Regions from separate parts of the Homo sapiens genome. Here regions 1, 2 and 3 are each linked to region 4. The links are contacts of gene promoters, found by promoter capture Hi-C in blood cells and fetal thymus (Javierre and others, 2016). All regions are on one chromosome and are shown on one strand. Each heading gives the region's core, a stretch centred on a gene start or on the middle of the fragment in contact. The rest is flanking DNA. Distances are from core to core; before and after follow the strand shown.

Region 1 (7,394 bases), core at 824-3,323, 300 kb before region 4:
ACACTTTAGCTGTATTTTCAGAAAACTGAAAACAAGCTTTTGCCTCTAAAGCTCCCTCCCTCAGAGAGGCAAGGCAATCTTAGCTCATGGTGGGTTGCCCACTCCTGTGCCCACCTTAATGACAGTGCCCCCACTGATTCTGAGCTGCCTTCACTGCGTTGTCTCAGCATCCACCAGCACTGCTGTAAATACTGCTAGCATTTGCAGTCTATGGATTTTGCATATTTTTAAATCTCTGTCACAGAGCTACCTGCCTGGGTAGTTTATCTCCTAGATTCCAATTACTGTTTTTGTTGTTGTTGTTGTTGTTAGTTCTGGCTACAAAGTTGTACAGGTTTTGAGCGATCCTCTGCAGCTCTATTTTCCTCAAAGTCCAGTTTTACCAGACAGTTTTACTTTTCATTTTAGAGGAGTTTACTTTTTACTTTATACACAGTTTTACTTTTCATTTTAGAAGAGCATATACATTGCTTTATGGTGGAAAAACACCTGTATAATAATTGATTTTAGTAAGATCATTAACTTATTCCCTATATTATTTTTAATTAGGTGCCCTTCGCTTTATGAGGCGGATAATTGGACTTAAAGATGAATTTTATAATCGTTACATCACCAAGGGAAATCTTTTTGAGCCAGTTATAAATGCACTTCTGGATAATGGAACTCGGTATAATCTGTTGAATTCAGCTGTTATTGAGTTGTTTGAATTTATAAGAGTGGTAAGTTTATATAAAACAGCTGTTATTATATGTAATTATATGTAAATAATTTTTTATGTAAAAGAATTACATGTAAGCAAAGTGACTTCATTCCCTTTTCACCCCTGAAATTATATATTCCATGTGTCTTAGAATCTATTCTAATAAACAGAAATTTTAAAAATCAGTAGCTTTTTAATTCTTATTTGCCACATGGTTATAGTTTAGTGGTTTTTACTTTTGACACTGATATTTTTTAACGCTAATATTTTTAATTGTGAAATATAAAAGTGAAATTCAGCATAGTCTTTCAGCCCATATTTACTTGATTTTCTCAGTTCCATTTTTATTGGCCAAATGTTTCATGATCTCATTTGGTGTATGTGGACATTTCAGTCAATCATGCCTTATTCACGTGATCTTTTAGGAAAAGGTGATATTTTTATTGTAGAGGTAATGATTTAAAAAGAATAGAAAGATGGAAAAATAATTCACTTGGGGTTGGGCGTGGTGGCTTACGTCTGTAATCCCAGCACTTTGGGAGACCTGGGCAGGCTGATCACTTAAGGTCAGGAGTTCGTGACCAGCCTGGCCAACATGATGAAACCCCATCTCTACTAAAAATACAGAAATTAGCTGAGTGTGATGGCACACGCCTGTAGTCCCAGCCACTTGGGAAGCTGAGGCACAAGAACCACTTGCATCCAGGAGGTGGGGTTGCAGTGAGCCAAGATTGCATCACTTCATTCCAGCCTGGGTGACAGAGCAAGACTCTTGTCTCAAAAAAAAAAATCATTTGGTAGACATTAATACAACATGCATAAAAGGTAGGATGGAATCCTAGAATTTTAAGTTAAAGAGATCAGGAAGTTAGATGGACTACTCCAATTACCGTATTTTATAGATCAGGAAATTAAGACACCCAAAGTTATTAAGTGACCTATTCAAGAACATCCTTTTGGATAGTAGCACAATCAGGACCAGTCAGAACTTGAAGCTTTGTCCCAGCTTAGTTTTAGGCAACAGAAGATTTGTCATAAACAATCTGGAGGGCAGTCTATGTGAATAACAGGAATGCAACAGATAACTGTAGAACCAGTACAACAAATTTACTTCACCTGTACTTAAACACACCGAAATCATTCCACTGAGGAAATGGCCACATAGTTGGAAAGAATTTGGGTTTTATTTTTTGTTTTGTTTTGTTTGAGACAAGGTCTCATGCTGTTGCCCAAGCTGGAGTACAATAATGTAATCACAGTTCACTGCAGCCTCGACCTCCTGGGCTCAAGCAGATCCTCCCACGTCAGCCTCCTGAGTAATTGGAACTACAGGCATGCACTAAAGTGCCTGGCTAATGGTAATTTTTTTTTATGTATGGGGTCTCCCTTTGTTGCCCAGGCTGGTCTCAAACGCCTAGGCTCAACCAGTTCTCCCACCTCAGCCTCCCAAAGTGTTGGATTACAGGTGTGAGCCACTGCACCTGGCTGGAAATAATTTGAAAAATCAAAGTCCAAGCTAGAAATTCATTATCTAGTTTTATTTCTTACAAGTCAGATTTTTGCTGATAACATGCTATTCTCATATGAAGATTATTTGGCTGACTGGATTGTTTTTCTAAAAGTGGTCAATTGCCAAGTATATGATTTTTAAAAGGATGAAGAGGATAGAAGTCTTTAACCTGGTAAAAGAAGGAACATGGTTAACTAGCTCACTAGTTCCCATTGTACTGCTGCAATAAATCAAAGCTTTATATTTTATTTACTTTATATTATTCTCCTTTAAAATTTTGGTGAGATACAGATAAAGCAAATGGTAGAGTTTACAACCCTGTCCCTATGCCCATGATGGAATTGTTTTTGTGAAAATAAGTTCGAGTGGTCGATTTGTGTACCTTGTGCCCCAAAACTTAATGTATTTTTTCGTTTCACATATAACATAGAGCCATTACCTAGGTTTCTAATTTCTGATTTGCGTATTTTTTTTCAATTGAGAAGTACAGGAGAACTAGTTTTAAGACTTAAAATCCATAATGCAACCAAATTATGGTGTATCTTTTCAAGAAATGACCTGTGTGTTTCTTACTATGTAGTGTTATCTGTAAAGTCCTCAATCACAACTTTAATTTTTTTTTTTAAAATAAGCCTACTGGGCATGCATGCATTTGCAGTGATGGTTTAGAATTTAGAAGTTATTACTATCAATTAGTTTATTTCACAGATATTATACTATTGGAAGACTATAGGAATAGACAAGTAGAATTCCAGATAGTTTATCAGATCTGTGTGTATAATATAGTCAGAGAAGTCTTTGCTTCTTATTATTTAGGTAACACGTGTCCTCTGTTGTTTTTTCTTCTTCTGTGTGTGTGAAAGCCAGCCTCTGATGTGGGAAAGGCTTGAGAGAGATCTCTTTGTCATCAAGCCTTTGCCAGCTCCTATATGATATATGTGGCAGAGTTAGGCTCATTTGAAAACTTAACAAATGTACCAGAAAGAAAACCACCACAACCATATCCCATTTTGATAGCAGTTAAACAGGAAGTCATTAAATAAGACCTGTTTGTTGAAAAATATGTTTTTCTTTTATTAATACATAATATTATACAGATGTATTTGGTACATGTATTTATTTTTTACATGCATAGAATGTGTAATGATCAAGTCCGGGTATTTGGGGTATCCATCACCGTGAGTATTTTGAAAATGTAATTTTAACATCTGCCCTCTAACCAGCCGTGTGCTCTGGATCAAACCATCCAGCCTCTCTTAGAGCCTCAATTTTGGTTTTTCTCTAAAATGGGAATAATAAAACCTATCTCATAGAATTGTTGTGAAGATCAAATGAAATTTTATGTAAAAGTGCTTTTTAAATTGTAAACTGCTATATATATATATATATATACAAAAAATAGAAGATGTAAAATAAATCTATTTACTTTTCGAATGCTCTTTATAGTCCTATAAAAGGACTCCAGTAAATTGCTTCTCCTTTTTTTTCAAGTTTTCTGTGCAGTCCTGACTCATGTGTAAAGAAACCAGGACATTACATTTTGGAAGGTGATTTTGAAAAACCTTTTTTGATCAGCTTTAGAACTACAAAACAAAATTTTAAAGTTTTTCTTCTAACAAGCATTGTATTATATTTTAAATGTAAATTTTGTGCTTATACAGGAAGATATCAAGTCTCTTACTGCCCATATAGTTGAAAACTTTTATAAAGCACTTGAATCGATTGAATATGTTCAGACATTCAAAGGATTGAAGACTAAATATGAGCAAGAAAAAGACAGACAAAATCAGAAACTGAACAGGTATTGTTTAAGTATACTGCTTTTATAGCCTACAAAACTGTGTCCAAAATTGTTTGTAGTTCAGATTTTCCATGTGAAATTTACTGAGGAATTTTCTTTCCATCACTGGATAGCATAGAGTTGAATAGGAGGGTAAGGCGTCCCCCCTACCCCATATCATTTATATGTTGAATTACTACTCCATGTTGTAACTTACGAAGAATATTTAGTTTAATTTACAACATCCTAAAATATTTTGGAGTGTTCTCTGGCTACATCTTCTATCATTACAGAGATTATTTTGATATAAATTATAGTCAGTTAAAATTACTTCAGTTCATCTTGGTTATACATATTTTTCCTTCAGTTCAATCTGATGATGAACTTTAAATCATTACTCAATATTTGTGATATATTTCTTACAGTGTACCATCTATATTGCGTAGTAACAGATTTCGCAGAGATGCAAAAGCCTTGGAAGAGGATGAAGAAATGTGGTTTAATGAAGATGAAGAAGAGGAAGGAAAAGCAGTTGTGGCACCAGTGGAAAAACCTAAGCCAGAAGATGATTTTCCAGATAATTATGAAAAGTTTATGGAGACTAAAAAAGGTATTAAAATTCGGAATTTTTGCACAGTGTACCCTCTTATTTAGTGCAGAAATTATTTTGTTGCTTTGTGAAGGTTTGTTTATAGTTTACAAAGCAAGAAAGACAAAAATTTTATACCAAACTGTGTTCTTTTAAAATTATGTACTTTTTCCAAATCTGTCTGGGAATTCTTTTCATGTTTAAAATGTTTCTCTTCAAACTTGCTATTTTGTAATGCTGTTAATTTGCTAGTTAGAAATTGAATTATCTACTTATACTTTTCTTTCTGTGAATAGTCTTGGCTTTATTTCTATACTGAAATTCTCAGTAATAACAGAGACCATATAGCTTCATAGAAACCTTCTAGAGTACTTTGCCTGTGTCTTTTACAGCTGATAAACTGAGCTCAAACAAGTAACTTTGCTCTTTGAAATTTTAAAATTACAAAAGTTACATAAAGATATACTAACAAGAGAAGTGAAAAAGTAAAACTTCCCCTGGCTTTCAGATGTGCTTAACTTGTTTTATAAAATGAAGATCTTGCTAGTAATATATCTTTCAAAAGAACTAACCATTTTACTTCTGTGGCCTGAGGAATTACCATTTTTTGGAATACTGCCCTGAGTATATCATTTAAATATTTAATTAAAATTTATACCTTGCTGGGCATGGCGGCTCACGTCTGTAATCCCAGCACTTTGGGAGACTGAGGCAGGTGGATCATTTGAGCCCAGGAGTTCCAAACCACCCTGGGTAACATGGTAAAACCCTGTCTCTACAAAAAAACACAAAAATTAAATGGGCACAGTGGCACTTACCTGGAGTCCCAGCTACTAGGAAGGCTGAGGCTGGAGGATCACTTGAGCCCAGGAGGTCGAAGCTGCAGTGAGCCATGAGCTGCCGCTGCACTCCAGCTTAATAACAGAGAAAGACCTTATCTCAAAAACAAAAGAAAAAATTTATGTCTTAGAAGATAAAAGCCTTTCTTGGATTTATTATGTAAGTTTGTGATTTTGAATGTGACATTTTCTAAAGACAATTCTCAGAAAATTAATTTCATTTATTACATTTTCTTTGAAACTATTGTTCGTACTCATTTTCAACTCATTAGTTTGATAAGTTTTATTTGCCTCAGCGTGGCGGAGCAAAAAGCTTATTAAAATATCCTAAGAAATCGGTACCTTTGCTAGACAAATTCTTCTGCCTTTACTCATTACAGGTACTGCCCTGACTATTGTCAAAAGAGGCAGTACAGCCATATTTGAAGTTCTGTATCCAGTGTTGAGTGAGATGCTGTTAAGAATCATATATAAAAATAATAACCAGATGTTAAAAGGGATTGGACACCTATGTCATAACACAAACAGAAAAAGGAACCTGGAATATTTAGGACTTACGGACTTGATCATTGTCTTTAGGCATTTGGAATATTGACTTGTGAGAGAAATTACTAGGTTTTTACCATGAGTAAAGAAGTGTAGAGTCAGTGAGTGGAAGCTACAGGGAGACAATAAAAGGAAGAGTCAGACAGCTAATGAGATTTTAGATGTATGTGCTAGATACCACAATGTAGAGTTCTAGCATAGAATGGCTAATTTTGTTATGATCCGTAAGGTCCTTTCTAATACTGAGATTTCTAAGATTCTAGCTAATAAAGACTTACCACTTGTATTAGTTCGTTTTATACTGTTAAAAAGAACTACCTAAGACTGGGTAGTTTATGAAGAAAAGAGGTTTGATTAACTCACAGTTCTGTAGGCTTAACAGGAAACATGGCTGAAAGGCTTCGAGAACCTTACAGTCATGGTCGAAGGCGAAAGGAAAGCAAGCATATCTTAACCATGGTGGAGCGGGAGACAGAGAGTGTGAAGGAGGAGGTGCCATGCACTTTTGTTTGTTTGTTTGCTTTTTGAGATGGAGTCTCCTTCTCATTGCCCAGGCTGGAGTGCAGTGGCGTGATCTCGGCTCACTGCAACCTCTGCCTCCTGGGCTCAAGCAATTCTCCTGCCTCAGCCTCTCAAGTAGTTGGGATTACAGGCATGTACCACCACACCCAGCTAATTTTTATATTTTTAATAGAGATGGGGTTTCACCATGTTGGCCAGGCTGGTCTTGAACTCCTGGTCTCAGATGATTCACCCACTTTGGCCTCCCAAAGTGCTGGGATTACAGGCATGAGCCACCAAGCCCGGCCGAGGTGCCACACACTTTGAAACAACCAGATCTCGTGAGAACTCACTATCACAAAAATAGCAAGGGGGTTTTCTGCCTCCATGATTCAGTCATCTCCTCCAACACCTGGGGATTACAATTCACAATGAGATTTGGGTGGGGACAAGAGCCAAACCATATCATTCCACCCCGGTCCCTCCCTAATTTCATGTCCTTTTTACATTTCAAAACCAATCATGCCTTCCCAACAGTCCCCCATAACTCATTCCAGCATTAACTCAAAAGTCCAAGTCCAAAGTCTCATATGAGACAAAGTAAATCCCTTCTGCCTGTGATCCTATAAAATAAAAAACAAGTTAGTTACCTCCAAGATACAACGGGGGTACAGACATTGGGTAAATGCTCCCATTCCAAATGGAAGAAATTGGCCAAAACAAAGGGGCTACAGGCCCTGGGCAAGTGCAAAGCCCAGCAGGGCAGTCTTTAAATCTTAAAGCTCCAAAATAATCTCCTTTGACTCCATGTTTCACATCCAGGGCATGCTGATACAACAGGTAGGCTCCCAGGGCCATGGCTGGCTTCGCCCCTATGGCTTTGCCAGGTACAGCCCCCATGGCTGCTTTCATGGGCTAGAGTTGAGTGC
Region 2 (7,309 bases), core at 3,264-5,763, 260 kb after region 4:
TCTTGAATTCAGAATTTAAAAATGCGTGCTTGAGGCCAGGTGCAGTGGCTCACGTCTGTAATCCCAGCACTTTGGGAGGCTAAGGCGGGCAGATCACGAGGTCAGGAGATCCAGACCATCCTGGCCAACATGGTGAATCCTCGTCTCTACTAAAAATACAAAAATTAGCTGGGCTTGGTGGCACGCACCTGTAGTCCCAGCCACTTGGGAGGCTAGGCAGGAGAATCACTTGAACCCGGGAGGTGGAGGTTGCAGTGAGCCAAGATCGTGCCACTGCATTCCAGCCTGGTGACAGAGCGAGACTCTGTCTCCAAAAAAAAAAAAATGCTTGCTTCAGCAGCACATACTAAAATTGGAATTATACAGAGAAGATTAGCATAGCCCCTGCACAAGAATGACGCATAGAATTTGTGAAGTGTTTCATATTTTTATATAAAAAATTTTTAAAAATGCTTTGGGTGTTTAAGAATATTTGTATGTTTTAGATTATAATGTAAGAAGTTAGCATATTAGTTTTCATAAATAGTGTCACTTTCAGTTTATGAATTTTAGTATTCATTTTTGGTACCTTATGTTAAATTTTTTATAGACTTTAAAATGCTCGTTGTTTTGCTATTTTAACTTGTACTGTCATTCATTTTCTAGACTAAAATCTTTTTCCAGTTCTTAAGATTTAATTCAGTAATGTTGAAGTGCTGTAATTTAGTCCATAGAGGGCATTATATTACAGCATATGGTAGGGTTTTAAAAATTAACTCCTTTCAGTATTGAAACATGTTAATTTCATACCTTTGTGTAGCTCAGAATAGTTAAATTTTGAAATAAGCTTAAAACTACTGTGTAGCTATAATTGTTTCTTATTTTTTAAAAAACATGCCTATTTTCTGTGGCTGGAAAGTATAAATTATTTTAGCTCTCAAGAGCAGTGTACATAAGCAGTCTCTAACTTTCAGAGTAGCATTTTCAATCCAAATGATTGCTGCTTTCCCACCCTCTTTCCCTTGCATCTCTAAATGTTGTAAAGAAAAACGAAGCAAAACAAAAACCTGAGTTTTTCCTGGGTGCAGAAGTAGAGGAAAGAAAGAAATGGAAAAGGAAGAATGTCTTAGAATAAGAGCTGGCTGGGGTGGACTTAACACCTTGCCTAGTGCTGCCTGTTCTAAAATCTAAAATATAACTTTCTACTGTCTGAAATCTTGCCAGTTAGATACCACCCCCCCTACACCCTCCCCCCCCCCCAAAAAAAAACCCACCAAAAAACATACACACAGTTTCTGAGGTCATAAAAGAGTTTCTTGTTTAGTAGGAATTGATTTATGCGTATTTCCTACTTAACAGGTAAGTGCATGAAGGAAACGAGGGTTTGGTCTGAGATGTGAGAAAAGAAACCGTGTAGGTAATTTTACAGCATATTACCCTTTAGAGCTTATCCCTTCATAAGATGCAAAGGAAAGACATTATGGATATGTATTTGGGCAAGTTTTCATCTTTGATTTTTTTGTCATGCTTGGGAGAAGGGGATACTGGGGACATGGACATTGAGGAGTGGGAAATTGCCAAATATGAACTTTGAACAGTTTATTTCAAAAGTTCTGTATAAAGCTGATTTTGAGTTCAGGAAAAGGAGAATACTTTTCCCCTCTTCTCCCCTCCACAAACACACAATATGAAATAGGGCTTAGAATTCATACAACACTTTTATTGGCTTGCAGTATAAATAAAGGAGTTTTCTGTGGCCTCTCCTTTGTGAGCCTTTGCTTTTATGGGAAAAGAGGTTCCTGTCTCAAATAGTCAAAATGCCATTCTGCAAGTTGAGACATGTGCTCTACTTGAAAATTGTCCTCAAAAGAATTAATTTTTTTAAAAGTTAGGTAGTTGAAGGAAAACAAAATAAATGAAGATAAGTTTTTAACAGATTTATGTCCTTTCTTTATTTGACTTGTTAAGTTGGGGTTCATTGTGGAATAGGACCTATAAACTATGCAGATGTACATTTTTCTCAGCTGGAAAATAATAGAACTATACAGCAACGACAATAGTTTGTGTATGAGAGGGGGCAATTCTGTTTAGAAAGATTGGGTTATTGCCTAGAGTTGAAGGACTTAATATATGAGCTTTCTTAGATGTGCCTTACTTGTCTTGTTGCTTCTTAGTTTGATTGTTATTTTTAGCATACTGATAAGTAAATAGCACTTACATAGTGCCTACTTTTTGTCAGGCAATGTCCTAAAGCCTTCTATTTTTAGTAGAGATTATATGATTTTCATAATAAACATAGCCCATCTGGCTTTACATCTTTAACAAATTTGTGTCATATCAGTTTTTCAGATTTAAGCACTTTTTTGCTTAACTTGCCAAACTTAAAACAAGTCTAGTTGAAAAACTTTGTGAGAAAGAACTGGGCAAAATGTCAGTTGATTTCCACAAGCTAGTTTTCCTTGTACACTTACAAAGACCATAAAAATTAAAGAAGTAGATGTCACTATGTAGGCTGAAATGTTTACTAAACTTCAGGGCTCCTATTTTGACTTTTTAATCTGTCAGGGGTGCTATTAAGTATGTTTAATGTTTAGATGAGTGGGTATGTCTTATTACACATTCTTGCCCCTCTCAGACTTTTTTCTTTAATTGTTAAGCCAAATCAAGTACCACGGAAGATACAAGTAGTCTTAAGTGCCGAGTAACTTGATCACAGTAAAACTTTTTTCTTCTACTAGTGAAGTAATCTCTGACTTGAAAATAGTGTTTGAGTACTATAGTTGAGTGTTTTATTCTAATGCTCGTTATTTATTGGCTTTCAGTTTTAAGGGACTTGTTATTAGAAAGTCAGTATTTTGTATTTACTAAATAGTTTGAGATTCTGAATGTTGCGTGGAGAGGCCAGACATTTTCAGGCCATGATATGGCTTGCTGACCGGGTTCTCAAATATCACATTATGCAGGGGTTCAGTGAATAAAGTTTAAAGTTAAATATTAACTCGAGCTGAGAATACTGGGCTCTTTTAAAAATTACTTTTCTTTATTTATGTTTGGAGTTAGAGAGGCAGATAGGGAAATAAATGTGTCATTGATATTCAAGCCACTTCCTTTTTCCCCTCTCATTTTCCTAATTTTAGTTCTTTCTATGTTTAAGTCTTACATGTTTTGTTTTTAGTTTTTTTGGGTACATAATAGGAGTATATATTAATATCAAGCCACTTCTGATATTAAGGATTTTGCAGCCCACAGATAGCAGGTTCCAGAAAATATTATCTCTATTTCATTTTAGCTATACAGTCTTAAGTATGTATTTTTGTACATAGGCTACGTATCTTATAGTATTTTCGCAAATTGCATTTTAAAATATTTTAGCTGATTTGTTAGTGCCTTTTCTGCTTAGGCAGATATAAGTATCAGGTGAATTGATTGTGGAACATAAGTAGAGACACTGCATTGGAATGAAAATCAGTTTTATAAAGTTGAACACAGATTTTAAAAATGCTGTACATAGATTTGTTTTTATATTTTTCAGTAAAATTTTAGGCCAGGTGTGGTGGCTCATACCTGTAATCCCCGCACTTTAGGAGGCTGAGGTGGGAGAATTGCTTGAGCCCAGGAGTTTGTGACCAGCTTGGACAACACAGGGAGACCTCATCTCTAAAAAAAGTGTAAAAATAAAAAATTAACTGGGCATGGTGGCACATGCCTGTGGTGACTGAGATGGGAGGATCTCTTGAGCCTGGGAGGTTGAGGTTGCCATGTGACCAATGATTGCACCACTGCACTCCAGCCTTGGTGACAGAGCGAGACCCTGTGTCAGAAAAAAATAAAAAATAAAATAAAATTATAGTTTGCTTTTATGTCATTTTCCCATGGCAGATTATATCATTAGCCCATGAATATATCTCCCCAAGCTAAGAATCTATTAATACTGTCTGTAGAGGTGTCTAATAAATATTCAAAGATTGAGTTGGAGCAGATGATGATTAAGAGTAAGTGTATGTTTGTAAGTCTCTGGATTTCCATAATTGTAAAAGAGGAAAAAAGATATTAGGAAGATTAAGTTGCTAAAGTTTTCTGTTCAAATAATATGTTCAATAAACATTAGTAATTTGACTTTTATTTTCTGTTTATCTCTTCATAAGGTGCAAAATGCTGAATGTTTTACGTCTTAATGAACTTAGGAGCAATTAAGGAGACTCATCATTTCACAAGCTTGAAATTTAGGCTATTAATATTTGATCAGTCCATTTTTATCTTATTAGGTAACCATTAATTTTAGAGTTTTAAATGAAACTGAAAACCAGTAGCATAATTCGACCATCTGTTAAAAAAAGAAAGAAAAAAAAACTGCATATGGCTTTAATTGCATTTCAGATACATTCAGTGGTTAGTTCTAAGAACAACCCTTATTTCCTTTCTTTTGGTAGCCTGCCCTCTCCCTGCAAATGCAGCTCCATTTGGTATGAGCAACAAGGCAAATGCCTAAAACAATCAACAGATAGAAGGAAAGCATTAATGCTGGAGTATTAGTAGCCTAGTTACAGATTGCACTGCGTCAGACTGTTCCACACCCAGAAGACGTCAGGTGACTTCAGTCCTGCTGCAGTTGTGCAGCAGAGGAGACTGCAGACTTCGGTTGAGGAAACGGGTATTTCATGTCTCAGGGAGTAGGTTTGTGCAGTTACAGCTTTTCTGTTGGTATGCATAATTAATAATTGGAGCTGCAAAGCAGATCGTGACAAGAGATGGACGGTCAGAAGAAAAATTGGAAGGACAAGGGTATATCTGCTTTTTAATTTCTTATTCAGTTTTTATATGTGACCACTAATATATTTCTATGAATAAGCTTTGGAATTTAGATATTTTGGATTGAAAGTGAAACCTCTGAAGAGTTGAAGTCTAAAGGATTAAAACGGCTATCTCACGTGTTTTTACATTTGGTTGTATACCAGAAAATGTCATGCTGTTCTGTTTCACTGGCATTCGGTTTAGTCTTTTCAGTCCTGCCGTTTAGGTTCTGTTCTCTAATCTTGCACATTGTAAACAATATAGATCTAACAGATTTCATTTGTTCGTCACTTGGATGTGGTAAATACACATTGCTGTTTTTGTGTTTCACAGTGACATATTTTCCGTGACTATTTTAAAAAACCTTACTTGGTGTAGTTGAAATTCTGTGCAAAGGTTTGTAGGTAGCAAGATATTGTGTTTGCAGTAAGCCTCTTCTTTGAAAATCTGATTTGAACCTTTAAAATTATTACCAACTTTCTTTTAATCAGATTATGTGCATCTTGAAATCATTCAAATTACACAGTATAATTACGCAGTAATTTTAAATGCATGTCTATATTTAAGTCACTAACCTTTGTCCTTGTAATAACCAATCAGTGATTTTGATCCCTTTTCCTCCCCCTTGAAAGCCCAGATCCTTTCAAATCTCAGTGGATCATTGTGTAAGAATTTAAGCCTGTAAATGGTAAAATGTTGACTAGAATATTTAAAGAATATTTTATTATGTAGATGGTTAAATCTACCTTTTTTTCTTTAAAAGAAAGTGGTAGGCTGTATATCTGACCACTTATAATAAATTACCTTTAAATTATTAGAGCTATTTTTAAGTAGTCCAAAATAGACATTCTACGTAAGCAATTTTTTTCCTGGCTACATTCAAGTTTTATAATTAAAAAAAATTATTTCCTTCTAGCAGGATTGGCAACAATATTTCTAAAAGTATGTAGAGCTAATTACAGTAACTTTTACAATGTCTTTTTAAAAATTTGTTCAATAAAGATGTGGGGAAAAGGTGAATTTAAGATTGAGACCATATTGAGACATTGGTAAGATTTTATGGTTGCAACTTAAAAAATAATAGAAAACAATACAGCTTTGGGTTTTGCCTTTAGGATTTCTTTACATGTGAATTTAAAGAGAAGGATTTTTATTTCTTCATCCTGTTAGCCGTTGACGTTACAGATTGATGAATTGATATATGGTAGCTTTTGCTAAGTGAAAATGATACAAATGATAATAATACAATAAATACAGGCCTTAAAAGTAGGTGAAAAGTCGTATCAGGGCTCATTCTGCAACTATTAAGGTTCTTTATTAATAACTTAAGTCTTAAATCATTAAATAACATCTTAAGTTCTTTATTTGTTGAAGTAATTTAAAGGTATTATGAGACAGGAGAAATTAAGTTCCAATGTAGTTCATATTTTTTCCAGAGATTTGTTTGATTATTTTTAGGTACTCAAATGTAAAATTGAATTTACTCCTGAATATCTCTGGGGAGCCTCACTTTGTAAGTGGAATGGCCTAATATTTTTTAGTACCTGTCTGGCTGTTTTGGTCGGTAAGATTAACTTTGCCTGTTTTTCTGAGTCAGTGGTTAAATTATATTTTAGTATTTTCTCTATCAGCAGACAATTTTATTATTACAGAGTAATATTTAAGATTACAGAGTAAGGTTTAAGTTGGAAATCACTGAGAAGTTGGAAGCTGTCATGGAATGAGTTTTTCCTCATCTAAAAAAAAAATAGTTTGACAGCAGAGAAGGAGCCTAATCTAGGGTCTAGGTAAATTTAAAAAATATACTTAGGCATTTTTCTACTGCATTCTCCCCCTGACCACCAGTATAGCATAGTGACAGATTTGAGAGATGCTCTGATTTCAGTGTTCTTTAAAAGGTGGTGTGTGTGTGTGTGTGTGTGTGTGTGTGTGTGTTTGCTTGCCGATTAACTGGTATTTAAGATACTCGATCTTTCAGGCTGAAAGCATTAATAATTTGCATTCTTTTATATATTCTTCATATTTTCTGTTTAGGATACTTATGACAAATGACATTTACATAGTATTCGATTACTGGGGTTATATGGAAAATTTTGATTAAGGTAGTCAAAAGATTTTTAGGAGCTTAAAATAGGAAGGAATGGGTAGGCCTAGGGATTTGGATGGGGTAGGAGAATGATATAACCACTAAAAAGCTATAGTTGAGACAGTAAATAACTTTCTGGGTAGAACAGAATATTTAGGACAGGAGTTGAAAGATAAGATTGGTGTGGTCAAGGAATGTAGAAAATTTAGATGAACTAGATTAGGTTTCCTCATACTTCTCTGTAGATGAGAATCATCTAGTGCTTCTTAAAAATGCAGATTCCTTGGGTCGTGACCTACCAAATCAGATTTTGTAGGGCCTGGCAATCTGCATATTAAGCATCCTGGTGTAATTCATATTGTTGGGCAAATTCGGGAAACAGTGATCTAGGGTTTAAGCCTTGGTTCTGGTATATTTTGATTTTGGCTAGAATAAGAAACTTACCTTTTTGGT
Region 3 (6,885 bases), core at 3,858-6,357, 320 kb before region 4:
AACTCCTGACCTCAGGTGATCCGCCCGCCTTGGCCTCCCAAAGTGCTGGGATTACAGGCGTGAGCCACTGCACCTGGCCAATGCAGCTATATTTAACCCTTTTCCTGTCTGTCCTGTGAATACTCGCCAGTAGTGCTTGGCTGCAGTGTTTACCTTGAGATAACTTTGCCACAAAATACCTAGCTTTTATTATTATTTTTGCATTGCTGTGGCATATTGACTTTGGAAACAGAAGACATCATTCTATTTATAGCATTCTGGTTTTAATAGTGATATTTTCATTTACAAACTATAGTAATTGTTAATCACTGAAAATGTCAAATCGTAGAAAACATAGCAGTCCTGCACATGGTATTGTCATTCTCGAACAGTTGTTGCCCGAGGATTCGTTTGTTGAATCTGATTTTTTTTTTCGAAATAGACGAATCTGATGATTCAAACAATTCTGATGTTAGTTCTATTTAGAAATAACTCCAAGAACAGTTTTTATATTTTATTTTCACCTTGAAAGTCAGATTTGCTTCGGCCTCAAAGAGCGTGTTTATGTAAAATTAAATGAGTCCTTGCAGCAAGCTGTACTTTTTTTTTCTCAATGGGTAAAGGGTTAAAAGTATGTTTTCTTCCATTTTGAGAGATACTGTTATTATTGGGGTGTATACGAGTATGTGGCTATTTGCTATATGAAGGTGATTTTATTCTGTCTCCTTGAGTTGTGAAATAGGAGTTTTATACTATATTTATCATGTTAATCCTTTACACCCTAACAGTATAGTAAGCATGCTTTTTAAGTACTTGTCTTACTTGTAACAGTAGCCTATACTCAGCTTTCTGCATAACTGCTTTTGTTATTTCCATATCATTCACTAAGTTTATTGAGCAGCTACTATATACTTAGTATTGTGGATCTCAGAGTGTGGTTTGTGGACCTCTGGAAGTCCCTGAGCCCCTCTTACAGGCATTTATGAGGTTTTCCTTTTTCTAGTTTGATGTCAGTGTGAGGCTGTGTTTTTTTTTTTTTTTTCATGTACTTTTGCTTAAAGAACATATTGCAACACACTGAATGCCAGAAAAGATAAATGAGTATCTGGTTGTCATTTGTTAAGCCAGGTATTGAGATTTGCAAAAATGTAAAAGGGGCTACTCTTTTTTATAAAAGTTTAAATTTTGGATCATATAGCTGTTTCTCTTAAAAAATATTTACATAAACATAAAATGACTTATTTTAAAATGAATTCATAAATATTTTCACGAGTCTTGGTTTTAATTGTAATTTTTAAAAATTTATTTTATTTTTTATATAGAGACAGGATCTCACTGTGTTGCCCAGGCTGGTCTCAAACTCCTGGCCTCAAGTGATGCTCCTCACCCTCCCAAAGTGCTGAGATTATAGATATGAGCCACTGTACCCAGCCTCTGCATAATTCTTAAGAGTTTAGGCTGGGTGTGGTGGCTCATGCCTGTAATCCCAGCACTTTGGGAGGCCAAGGCCAGGAGGATCACTTGTGGTCAGGAGTTTGAGACCAGCCTGACCAACATGGCGAAACTCCATCTCTACTAAAAATACAAAAATTAGCCAGGCACAGTGGCACGTGCCTGTAATCCCAGCTACTCAGGAAGCTGAAGTGGGAGAATTGCTTGAACCGAGAGGCGGAGGTTGCAGTGAGCTGAGATTGTGCCACTGTACTCCAGCCAGGGTGACAGAGCGAGACTGTCTGAAAAAAAAAAAAAAAAAAGTTTAAAAGGGTCCTGATACAAATAATTGAGATTCTATCTCTGACTTAGTGCCTAGCTAATCGACTTCATTTTGCGACGTTTCCCACCAGTAGTCACCTATTATTGTTTACTTTAATTTTTTGCATAGGATTTACTTTTCTTTCAGGTCATTTATTCACCTACCAATTTTTTGTTATTCACCAATAATGAGTGTGGGGGAGGTTAGATGTACATATCAGGTTCTTTTTATAATATATAGGACCTGTGTATTTTTAAACTGTAGTATACAATTCAGGGTGCTATTTCACTTGTTGACAGAAAAACATTTAATAATCTTAGGAGATTGGACAGAGTCACAGTCTGTAGTTGATAAAAAGAGGACCAGGAACAGAAGCTCATATGTAGCTTTCAAATGACTGTTTTTGTCTTCAGAAGGGTTTCCAAATTCATACTAGTAAATCGTAAATACTTTTTTATATTCAGAAAATAAATTATATGAACTATAAATATTTGTAAAACTTTGTCATTTTATGTATTTTATAATAGGTTTATTTGTGAAGGCTATAATTACGTAAATCAAGTGCAGCTTTTTATTTTTCTAAAAGATTTACTCATTTCTGCTTCATGAGATGCATTTCATGAAATAGCCAGATTCTGTGAACTGTCTGTTATTTACATAACATTTACTACTTAATTATCTCTTATGTGCCAGCAATGATGTTGAATTTTTTTTTTTTTTTTTTTATTTTAGATTCAGAGGGCACATAGGCTTATTTGTTACATGGGTATTGCATGAGTAATGGTGGAGATTGGGCTTCTAGTGTACCCATCACCGTGATATTGAACACAGTGCCCAGTAGATAATTTTTAAACCTTCAGTCCTCTCCCATCCTACCCCTTTTTGGAGTTCCCAGTGTCTGTTATTTCCATCTTAATGTCCTTGTGTACCCACTTGTAAGTGAGAACATGCGATATATGATTTTCTGCCTCTGAGTTCACTTAGGATAATGGCCTCCAGCTCCATTCATGTTGCTACAAAAGACATGATTTCATTATTTTTTAACATTTCATTTGTATTCCACAGTGTATATATACACCCCATTTTCTTTGTCTGATCATCTGTTGGTAGACACTTAGGTGGGTTCCATGACTTTGCTATCATGAATAGTGCTGCGATCAATATACAAGTGCAGGTGTCTTTTTAATATAATGCTTTTTTTTCCTTTGGGTATGAATTGTGTTTTCAACTATGTGTGAAAAGGAAAGAAATAAGATTGTGGCCAGTGGTCTCTATTTTATTTTATTTTTTGTAGAGGTGGGGTTTTGCTATGTTGCCTAAACTGTTCTTACCTGGCCTCAAGCAATCCTAGTGCCCAGCCTTCCAAAGTGTTGGGATTACAGATGTGAACCACCACACCTGGCCCTACAGTGGCCTCTAAGCACTTATTTCCTAAAGTCTCACTCTGAGATTTCCATGTAGAAATTTTTGGTTAGGTAGTAGGTGTTTCTAGATACCTATCTGGGTATCTAGTACACTTACCTGTGGTTTCTTAAATGCGCATTAACTTGCTGCTGTGTGAGTTGTAGAAGGCAAGTGAATATGTAAGAATTTTATGTAACTGGGCCGAAGTGAGGTAGTACGAAGGTCCTTATCATAAATCCTAGCTTAAATTAGGTTAATTAACTGAGAAATTATATGAGAGTACTTAGCATAGTCAGTGGCTCCTAGTATGTGTGCTAATACATGTTGACAATATCTTAAGCATGATAGGGACATAAGACTTTAGTGACTCCAAATGTTCTAGCTAATTGCAGATCAAAATCCCCTGTGCCCAGAATTGAGCAACATTCTTTTAAAATATTTTAGAAATTATTTATTTATTTATTTTGAGACAGAGTCTCGCTCTGTCACCCAGGCTGGAGTGCAGTGGCGCCATCTTGGCTCACTGCAGCCTCTGCCTCCCAGGTTAAAGTGATTCTCAAGCCTCAGCCTCCTGGGAGCTGGGATTACAGGCAGCAGCCACCATGCCTGGCTAATTTTTGTATTTTTAGTATAGACAGTTTCACCATGTTGGCCAGGCTGGTCTTGAACTCCCAACCTCAGGTGATCCACCCGCCTCAGCCTACCAAAGTGCTGGGATTACAGGCATGAGCCACTGCCCCCAGCCAGAAATTAAATTTTTGAAAGCAAGTAAAATGAGATTATTTCTGCACAAACAGTTATAGAATAAGATCCTTTTCAGAACAAAGTTTTAATTTCTCTCCTTACTAGAAATGATGGAGGATAGGAATCTCAAATGTTGACATTTTAACACATTTACATATATTATATTATATACATATTTCTGCTATTCCATAGGTAAGAGTTAAGCTTAAAATTAGCCCAGCAGGATTAGCGGTTTAGTTCTCTTTTTAACATATTTTGCAGATGCTAAGGTTTTGGCACGGAAAGAGAAAAATTTCTAACTTCCCATCCCAGTTACAGATTAAGTATGTAAAATCTTCAGATACTCTTTAAAAAACTGTTTAGAGTAATAGGGCTTTTCATTTTGTTTTTAGGATTTTTCTTTGGATTCAAGTACAGGATTTAATATATTAAATTTTATCTTACTAGATTTGGCCCATTCCAGCTTTGTGTATCTTTTGCTTTGGTTTGATTCATACGTTTGAAGTTTGAAATACTTGGAAACCTGTCTTGTGGTTTACTTAGTAGGAGTGACAAAAACCTCATTAATTATTTGGGAGGCCTGGATTCTAAATCCATCTGTCACTAGCTACCCTCAGAAAGGTTCACTTTTTGAACCTCAGTCTCTTGAAATTTAAAATTGGACTTGACAGTCTCTGTAATGTTGCAAAATCTGATTTAATTCTAAATTTCTGTGTTTATATGTTTCTAAAAATGAATGGGTTCTGTTTTTTCTTTTGTTTGGCCTGTATTTATATTACTGCAAAGAGAAGAGTTTGATTTAGACTGTTTAGAAGCAACCTCTTTTTTTCCCCACAGTGTTTTTTTATGTTGTCCAGAAAAGCAGCCACACAAGTTTTGACTTAAATATATAGGTTTTATTAAAACAAAAGCTGTTAAAACCAAATAGAAAAGAAAAACTAAAAGAGATTAGTTTGATTACTTGGAGAACCAGAGATTTTGGAGTAAGTATTTCAACTATATGATAGGCTTTAAGTTATTGATTATTTGCTTCCTTCATAAATATATTGGAACAGAGTGCTTTTATAGCTTAATGAATAATAGCCAGAGTAATGCTGGAAATCAGGGAAAAAATACTAGGAATACATATTCTCTTAATGGACTGTAATAATTGAGATTGCCTCTATCTGTAATATTTTATGCAGTTCTACTTATCAGCTCACAAGTACCGAATCATATAAGAAGAATTCAAGTGGGAAATTGCATTTATCAAGGAGTTGGAACTTTTTTCTTATGAAAATATTTTGAAAAAATTAAATTTTCAGGTAGTAAAGGATGAAGATGTAATCTACAACAGATGCAGGAAAATAGAAATTTATAAAAGGTGTGAATGGAGGTAAATATGTACTTACTCACCCTAACCTAAAATATTAAGACTAAAAGTATTTGGAAAAAGTAGGCTGGGCATGGTGGCTCATGCCTGTAGTCCTAGCACTTTGGGAGGCTGAGGTGGGAGGATTGCTTGAGGCCAGGAGTTCGATACCAGCCTGGGCAACAAAGTGAAACCCCCCCATCTGTACAAAAAATTAAAAAAAAAATAGCCAGGTATGGTGGCACGTGCCCGCAGTCTCTGTTACATGGGAGTCTGAGGGAGGAAGATTGCTTGAGTCCAGGAGGTCGAGGCTACACTGAGCCACGTTTGTACCACTGCACTCCAGCCTGGGCAACAGAGTGAGACTCTAGAAAAAAAAAAAAAGGAAAAACTAACTTGAGGGCTAAATAAAAGATTACATATGCATATAAACTCCCTCAAAAGATGGATGTTCAGGCTGCAGTGCATAAGGTCCAAAAGGAGTCAATGAAATACGAAAAGAAACACCTGAGTCAGACTAATTAAATGACTCAGACACATTCTGAGTCAGACTAATTAAGTGATTCATCTCCCAGTGTCTTGTCTTTGAGTAGCACCAATTGATTTTTAGTAGAAGAGCATGTTATACTCTCTGATTGTACCTAGTGGTTTCTATTCATTTTTTAAAAATACATGTTCCACGTTATTTCAAAAAGGATTTAAGGGATTGATACCATTTAATGGATGATCCTCAGTAAGAAAAAGGACAGGTAGTTGGGGTGTATCCTTTAAATGTTAGGGTTTTATTTTACTATCAACTCTACAGATACTATTGTTACAAACTTTTTTAGAACATGTTACTTTAAATTAATGGAAATTACATTTCATAAAAATGAATTTTGAAGATAACTGAAGCTTAAAACCACCAACAATTTCCATCAGTTTTTTTAGCAGATTTTGATGAAATCTCTAAGGTGAATTTTAATATTTTTGCCCATTTTTTCCTTTGTAATTTAGTCTGTGCTTATTGTAGAAAATTAGAAAATATAGATAACCAAAAAGAAAATCACTCATAACCTATCACCAATTAGAAAATATAGATAACCAAAAAAGAAAATCACTCATAACCTATCAGCAAGCAGTAACCACAGTTAACAGTCTAACCGGTACTCCTAGACTTTAGACAAACAAATTTATTTATTATTATTATTTTGTTGTTGTTGAGACGGAGTTTCACTCTTGTTGCCCAGGCTGGACTGCAATGGCGCAATCTCGGCTCACTGCAACCTCCGCCTCCCAGGTTCAAGCGATTCTCCTGCCTCAGCCTCCCTAGTAGCTAGGATTACAGGCATGTGCCACCATGCCTGGCTAGTTTTGTATTTTTAGTGGAGACGGGGTTTCTCCATGTTGGTCAAGCTGGTCTGGAACTTCCGACCTCAGGTGATCCCCCCGCCTCAGCCTCCCAAAGTGCTGGGATTACACGCATGAGCCACCACACCTGGCCCACAAATTTATTTTTTAAAAATGCGTGCTTGACTATATATATATTATATATATATAATATATTAAATATATATATAAATATATATATAATTATATATATTTTTTATATATATATAATTTTTTTTTTTTTTGAGATGGAGTCTCGCTCTTTTGTCCAGGCTGGAATACAGTG
Region 4 (6,635 bases), core at 2,707-5,206:
TGGCTCACCACAACTTCCGCCTCCCAGGTTCAAACGATTCTCCTGCCTCAGCCTCCTGAGTAGCTGGGCTTACAGGCGCGTGCCACCATGCCCGGCTAATTTTTAGTAGAGACGGGGTTTCGCCATGTTGGTCAGGCTGGTCTGGAACTCCTGACCCCGTGATCCATCTGCCTTGGTCTACCAAAGTGCTGGGATTAACAGGCGTGAGCCACCGTGCCCGGCCTCCATATTGTATTCTTTGGAAGCAAGTTAGTAAGTCCCGCCCACACTAAGGTGGAGAGGAATTAATCTTCACTTCCTAGTGAAGGTTTTATATATATATATATATATATATATATATATATATATATATATATATATATATAAAATTTGGAATTCTTCTGTAAGGAAGATTTGTTCCTTCTCTATGTATTTATTCAATTATTTATTTATATCAGTATGAACATATGTATACTTAGTTGATACTTTTGGTTATAATCCGGTACTATGTTATTTTGCTGCTCAAATATTTCCAGCTTTGGCCATTGGGAGCTCTTTCAGGTTGGCTTCTCTGTTCCTTTAACTGTTTTCATTCTCTTCTTTTTTCTTTTTTTTTTTGCTACTTTCTATATTTTGGTATATTGCTTGAATTTTCTACATTAGCATGATTAGAAAATCTTAATGATTAGAAAATTAGAGGAACATAGATGCATATATGGTTATTTTCACCTTAATATTGTGGAAAAAAGATCTGGCAACTACTTTGATGGTTTACCAACTGATTTCTGCTTGTTTCTCAACTGCCTTGCAAGCCAAGTAAGACAGCAAAGAATTACTTCTCACAGAAATTAAACTTCAGTAGATATCTGCGAGTAGTAGGTAAAATGATAGCAGTTGGAGTAAACTTCAATAGTTTTCAACTGTTGTGCCTGTTAGGTTCAGTTAAAAAAAATTTCCAGGCCTAGCGCACTGGCTCACACCTGGAATCATAGCACTTTGGGAGGCTGAGGCGGGCAGATCACTTCAGGTCAGGAGTTCAAAACCGGCCAGGCCAATTGTACTAAAAATACAAAAAAAATTAGCCGGGCATGGAGGCAGACACCTGTAATCCCAGCTACTCTGGAAGCTGAGGCAGGAGAATCGCTTGAACCTGCGAGGCGGAGGTTGCAGTGGGCTGAGATCGTGCCATTGCACTCCAGCCTGGGTGACAGAGTGAGACTCCATCTCAAAAAAAAAAAAATGTCCAGGAGAGGAGTTTGCATTAAATCATTCAGTAACACCGATTACACACCTTTGTAGTAGGCATTGGGAAAGTGGGGAAAAAAAAGAGGTTGGTAGGTTGGGATGGGGGCATGAGTTAGGAGGTAAGATGATGGTGTAGCAGGATGAGCCGCAGACAAAACCTCTCAGACACCGAGTTGTAGAAGGAAGGGCTTTATTCAGCTGGGAGCATTGGCAAGCCACTGCCTTAAAATCCGAGCTCCCTGAGTGCACAATTTCTGTCCCTTTTAAGGGTTCACAACACTAAAGATTTCACATGAAAGTGTCGTGATTGATTTGAGCAAGCAAGGGGTACGTGACAGGGGCTGCATGCACCGGTGGTCAGAGACAAACAGAACAGGGCAGGGAGTTTCACAATGTTCTATACAATGTCTGGAATCTATGAATAACATCGGTTTCTAGGTTATGAGTTGATTTTTATTTTATTTATTTATTTATTTATTTATTTATTTATTTATTTATTTTGAGACGGAGTCTCGCTCTGTCACCCAGGCTGGAGTGCAGTGGCGCCATCTCGGCTCACTGCAAGCTCCGCCTCCCAGGTTCACGCCATTCTCCTGCCTCAACGTCCCAAGTAGCTGGGACTACAGGCACCCGCCACCACACCCGGCTAATTTTTTTTAATATATATTTAGTAGAGACGGGGTTTCACCGTGTTAGCCAGGGTGGTCTCGATCTCCTGACTTCGTGATCCACCCGCCTCGGCCTCCCAAAGCGCTGGGATTACAGGCGTGAGCCACTGCGCCCAGCCTGAGTTGATTTTTAACTACTGGGTTTAGGCCAGGCAGAGCCAGGCCTGGTTTTGGGCCTGGCGCCGGACTGCCTGTCTTTGATTTCACTTCTTTTTTCTCTCTTAAAACAGGTACTGAGTATAAAACAATATAAAACAATATGAGAGGGTCTCTCTCTTCCCTCAATGGCAAGTATGCTTTTGAGTAATGAACTTCTGTACCATACCAATTACCCAGGGGAGTGGTAGATCTTAAAGACAAAGATTAATTGATTGATTTTGTTTTCTTCTCAAATTCCTTTTACCAAAAGACAGAGATAATAAAACAATATTTATATTTGAGAGGTGGTGATGGTTGTGGTCAAAACGACCAGCTGAAAGTCATAATGTCCAAGCAAGATGAGGGAAAGCTCTGGGGGCAGGCAGTAATAACCATAACAGCAAACACATACTATGAACCAGGCACTACTTATCAACAGTTTATCAACCCATTAAAAGCTTATTGCAGCCGGGCGTGGTGGCTCATGCCTGTAATCCCAGCACTTTGGGAGGCTTAGGTGGGCAGTCACCTGAGGTCAGGAGTTCGAGACCAGCTTGGCCAACATGGTGAATTAGTGAGGCATGGTGATGTGCCCCTGTAATCTCAGCTACGCGGGAGGCTGAGGCGGGAGAATCACTTGAACCCAGGAAGCGGAGTTTGGTTGCAATGAGCCGAGATCGCGCCATTGTGCTCCAGCTTGGGCGACAGAGTGACACTGTCTCAAAAAAAACAAAAAACAGTCTGGGAGAGGTGGCTAACGCCTGTCATCCCAGCACTTTGGGAGGCCGATGTGGGCGGATCATCTGAAATAGGGAATTCGAGACCAGCCTGACCAACATGGAAAAACCCTGTCTCTACAAGAAACACAAAATTAGCCAGGAGTGGTGGCACATGCCTGTAATCCCAGCTACTCGGGAGGCTGAGGCAGGAGAATCGCTTGAACCCGGGAGGCAGAGGTTGCGGTGAGCTGAGATCGTGCCATTGCACTCCGGCCTGGGCAACAAGAGCGAAACTCCATCTCAAAAACAAATAGAAACAAAAACACAACAAAAACCTTATTACAATCCTGTGAACTAGCTACTGTCATTACTATAATGTAGATGAACAAACTGGGACATGGACAGTTGACAAAACATTCCCAACCACACACTAGGAATGAGCTGGGATAGGAAACCAGGCACTCTGGCTCTATTACTCCTAATGCCATACACACGAGCTGACTTAGGAGAAAACAGAAAGTACTGTTCGCACAATACTAACTGGTTCTACCGCCACTGTTCGCTTGCATTTGTTTTTTCCTTCTTGTTAGGAACACGTATCTTTGAAGGAGGTATCATTTCTCCCACAATTCTCCATTTAACGTTTCCTACAGTGTTAAGCACCACCGAGGCCTCTCATAGCCCCAGAGAAGAAGTAATTTGCTTCCTAGAAATCCTCACTGTATCCAGATTCCCTCCCAGAGGAGCCATCAGTTCTCATGGGTGGCACTTTTTCTCCAGCTGATTACACTTTTTTTCTGTACCAGTTAATTTTTCCAACTTCTAATTGAATAAAGGCAGTTTTCTTAAAAAAAAAAAAAAGAGAAAGAAAAACGGAAAGGAAGGAAGAGGAAAGGAAGGAAGAAATGAAGAAAGGAAGGAAGGAAAGAAAGGAGAGGGACAGAAAGAAAAAAAGGAAAGAGAGAAAGAAAGGAAAGGAAAGTAAGAAATGGAAGGGACCTGCAGAAACGATTCACCACGCGCGGCTGACCCTGGGAGGAGCCACAGGTTGAACCAGCGCCTCCCAGGCTGGACGCCCGCCGCGGACACCGCAGACAGTCCCACCCCCAGCGGCGACAGCAACTCTCTGAATTCCGGAAAGAACCTTTTCCAGCGGGACCGGAAGCCCGGCGGGGACCGTAGCGGGGACGGACTGACCTACCGACCATTCTTCCGGGTCCAGAAGGTGATCTCCGCCCGTGCTCAGAATCCAGGGGCCCGGGGCTGTAGGTAGGAGTTAAGTGGGTAGGATCCCTTAACCAGGGTTGTCCGGTGCAGGTGGTGTGTGTTGTTTCGCCTAACGTGTCAGTGGCACAAATCACGCGAACTTCATAAACATTGTGCGTTCGGAAGCCTTTCCAAGATGCATTTAATCCCTGCGTGAGCCCACGTTAGGCATTCACGAAGGCATGTGCACTGTTCTCTCGGAAGCGGCTGGCCGGCTTCCCCTCCTCGCGCGCGGCTGTGGGTGCAGGTCCTCACTTCCCAGCCTCCCATGGGCCCAAGGCCTTCTGGGCTCCAATTTGAGGCGAGCCACCCCAGATCCGTAATTTTTCTGCAGTGATTTATTTTTACCTTTCTGGTAAGTTCCAAAGCTTCCAGCTCACATTCAGACGTTTTCCCTAACGCAACTACGTATTTGCAACATACTTTTTTCAGATTCCTTGACAAGGATATCCTAGCGGCGAAACAACACCGTACTGGGAGTCAGAACGTCTGGGTTCTAGTCTTGACTGCCATTAACTAGCGGTATGACATTGGAGAAGCTTTTTTGACCCTTCTGGATTTCCGTTTCCTTTTCTGTAAAATGAGGAGCTTGGAGTAAGTGACAAGTTTCCTTCCAGTTTTGACATTTGGGTTATTGCCTCCAATGTGTCTTTCCAGTTCCTGCCTCAATTACATATCTGTGCTTTGGTTAATATCTCGTAGGGTCCTTCCTCCCACTCCATTAATCTGTGCTCTTCTCAAATCTGGTTTCATACTGATTTAAAAATTATTTTCTCAAGGAATCCTGTGTTACCTGAGCACTCTACTTCTTGGTCCAGGGGCACAAACGTAAATAAGATATTTTCCATGTGCCATTCTTAGAAGTATTTAATGTGTGTAAATACTATTGAATGAATTTCCAAATCTTCTTTTTTTTTTCTTTAGACAGAGTCTCACTGTCGCCCAGGCTGGAGTGCAGTGGCCTGATCTCGGCTCACTGCAGTCTCTGCCTCCTGGGTTCAAGCGATTCTCCTGCCTCAGCCTCCCAAGTCGCTGGGATTACAGGCGCCCGCCACCGTACCCGGCTAATTTTTGTACTTTTAGTAGAGAGGGGGTTTCACCATGTTGGCCAGGCTGGTCTCGAACTCCTGACCTCAGGTGATCCGCCCGCCTCGACCTCCCAAAGTGCTAGGATTACAGGCATGAGCCATCACGCCCAGCCTGAATTTCTAAATCTTAATGTGTTTATTTCGTTGGCATTAAGTTAGATTTTTCCTTGATCTTTACTCGAATAAGCCTTTTAAGGTAAAATGCTTGCTCGATTACACACACATACACAACCTCATAATTGTCCGAAGGTAAACAAGTTAATGACTTGTGAATATTTTTAACTTATAAGCAATGAATCCTCAAAGCTTATAAGCGAGTATCAAGACATGTGATATGGTTTTAAAATAGCTGATGATAAAGTATATACATCATCTCATTTTCTCCTCTTAGTCTTGTAATAGGAAGGACAGATATTCAAACACTTATTTATTTATTTATTTTTAACAGAGATCCGGAAAATGAGGCCCATAGGAAACAAGTGACTTGCTGAGTCCAGATAACACTGACTGTCAGAGTGAGTGTCCACCTAAGGTTCCTTTGTTGCCTAATAAGATACTTTCTTTGCTATACTGTACTTGTTTCTGTTATCATTTCTTTTCTTTCTTTTAAAAAATATTCAGTATAGGCCAGGCGCGGTGGCTCACGCCTGTAATCCCAGCACTTTGGGAGGCCAAGGCGGATAGATCACCTGAGGTCAGGAGTTCAAGACCAGCCTGGCCAACACGGTGAAACCCCGTCTCTACTAAAAATACAAAATAATTAGCCGGGTGTGCTGGCAGGCACCTGTAATCCCAGCGACTTGGGAGGCTGAGGCAGGAGAATCCCCTGAACCCAGCAGGTGGAGGTTGTAGTGAGCCAAGATCACGCCATTGCACTCCAGCCTGAGCGATGAGCAAAACTCCATCTCAAAAAAAAAAATTCAGTATATTCTATTTACCATGTCAGAACCATACATTTACTATGTCAGAACCATAAAATACACTTTGGGAAGATTGGTTGAAATGTAACATTTAGGCTAGGCGTGGTGGCTCACGCCTGTAATCCCAGCACTTTGGGAGGCTGAGACAGGTGGATCACCTGAGGTCAGGAGTTTGAGACTAGCCTGGCCAACATGGTAAAACCCGGTGTCTACTAAAAATACAAAAATTAGCCTGACACGGTGGCACACACCTGTAGTTCAAGCTACTTGGGAGGCTAAGGCTGGAGAAAATTGCTTGAACCCAGGAGGCAGAGGTTGCAGTGGGCTGAGATCACACCACTGAACTCCACCCTGGGCAACAGAGCGAGACTCCATCTGAAAAAAAAAAAAAAAAAAAAAAGAATGAAATGTAGCATTTAATGCCTAGTTATCTAGCAAAGATCACCCGTCCAGAGCCTTAATTTCTTTGGTCACATCAAATAACTATTATCATTTGTGAACAATTTTAAAGACTATCTAGTAGAAAATATAAATATATTTATATAATATATATGTTGTATATAAATATAAAATATAAGCATATTGTAGAAATGCCATATTATGAGATAAATC

What was found. The method cuts DNA at HindIII sites, captures the fragments that hold promoters and counts their contacts. A CHiCAGO score of 5 or more calls a contact.
Region 1: a fragment that was not itself captured here is called in contact with the fragment with the promoter of MTIF2 in region 4 in 2 of 17 cell types (monocytes and M1 macrophages); the score reaches 5.5 in monocytes.
Region 2: a contact is called between a fragment that was not itself captured here and the fragment with the promoter of MTIF2 in region 4, in 4 of 17 cell types (total CD8 T cells, total CD4 T cells, activated CD4 T cells and 1 more). The highest score is 5.7, in total CD8 T cells.
Region 3: a fragment that was not itself captured here is called in contact with the fragment with the promoter of MTIF2 in region 4 in 2 of 17 cell types (monocytes and erythroblasts); the score reaches 5.9 in monocytes.

The regions. Positions count from the first base shown.
Region 1 is chr2:55,561,519-55,568,912 of GRCh38, reverse strand. It overlaps PPP4R3B (protein phosphatase 4 regulatory subunit 3B), which reads left to right. Exons shown (of 17, transcript NM_001122964.3): 13 at 550-719; 14 at 3,872-4,011; 15 at 4,416-4,600. LOC124900537 (small nucleolar RNA SNORA12) reads right to left here and starts at 3,210; the gene lies at 3,063-3,210. RefSeq lists an enhancer at 1,389-1,889. The HindIII fragment of the contact is 751 bases long and covers 1,698-2,448 here.
Region 2 is chr2:55,007,539-55,014,847 of GRCh38, reverse strand. The region is part of intron 3 of RTN4 (reticulon 4); the gene reads left to right. It also overlaps the pseudogene RNU6-433P. Among named protein-coding and RNA genes, the nearest start is that of RTN4, 39 kb to the left of the region's middle. RefSeq lists a silencer at 3,710-3,769. The HindIII fragment of the contact is 634 bases long and covers 4,197-4,830 here.
Region 3 is chr2:55,589,875-55,596,759 of GRCh38, reverse strand. All of the region lies in intron 4 of PPP4R3B (protein phosphatase 4 regulatory subunit 3B), which reads left to right. Among named protein-coding and RNA genes, the nearest start is that of PPP4R3B, 24 kb to the left of the region's middle. The HindIII fragment of the contact is 2,041 bases long and covers 4,087-6,127 here.
Region 4 is chr2:55,266,552-55,273,186 of GRCh38, reverse strand. It overlaps MTIF2 (mitochondrial translational initiation factor 2), which reads left to right and starts at 3,956. Exons shown (of 16, transcript NM_002453.3): 1 at 3,956-4,018; 2 at 4,448-4,609; 3 at 5,552-5,618. RefSeq lists enhancers at 3,095-3,918, 3,864-4,013. The HindIII fragment of the contact is 1,895 bases long and covers 2,491-4,385 here.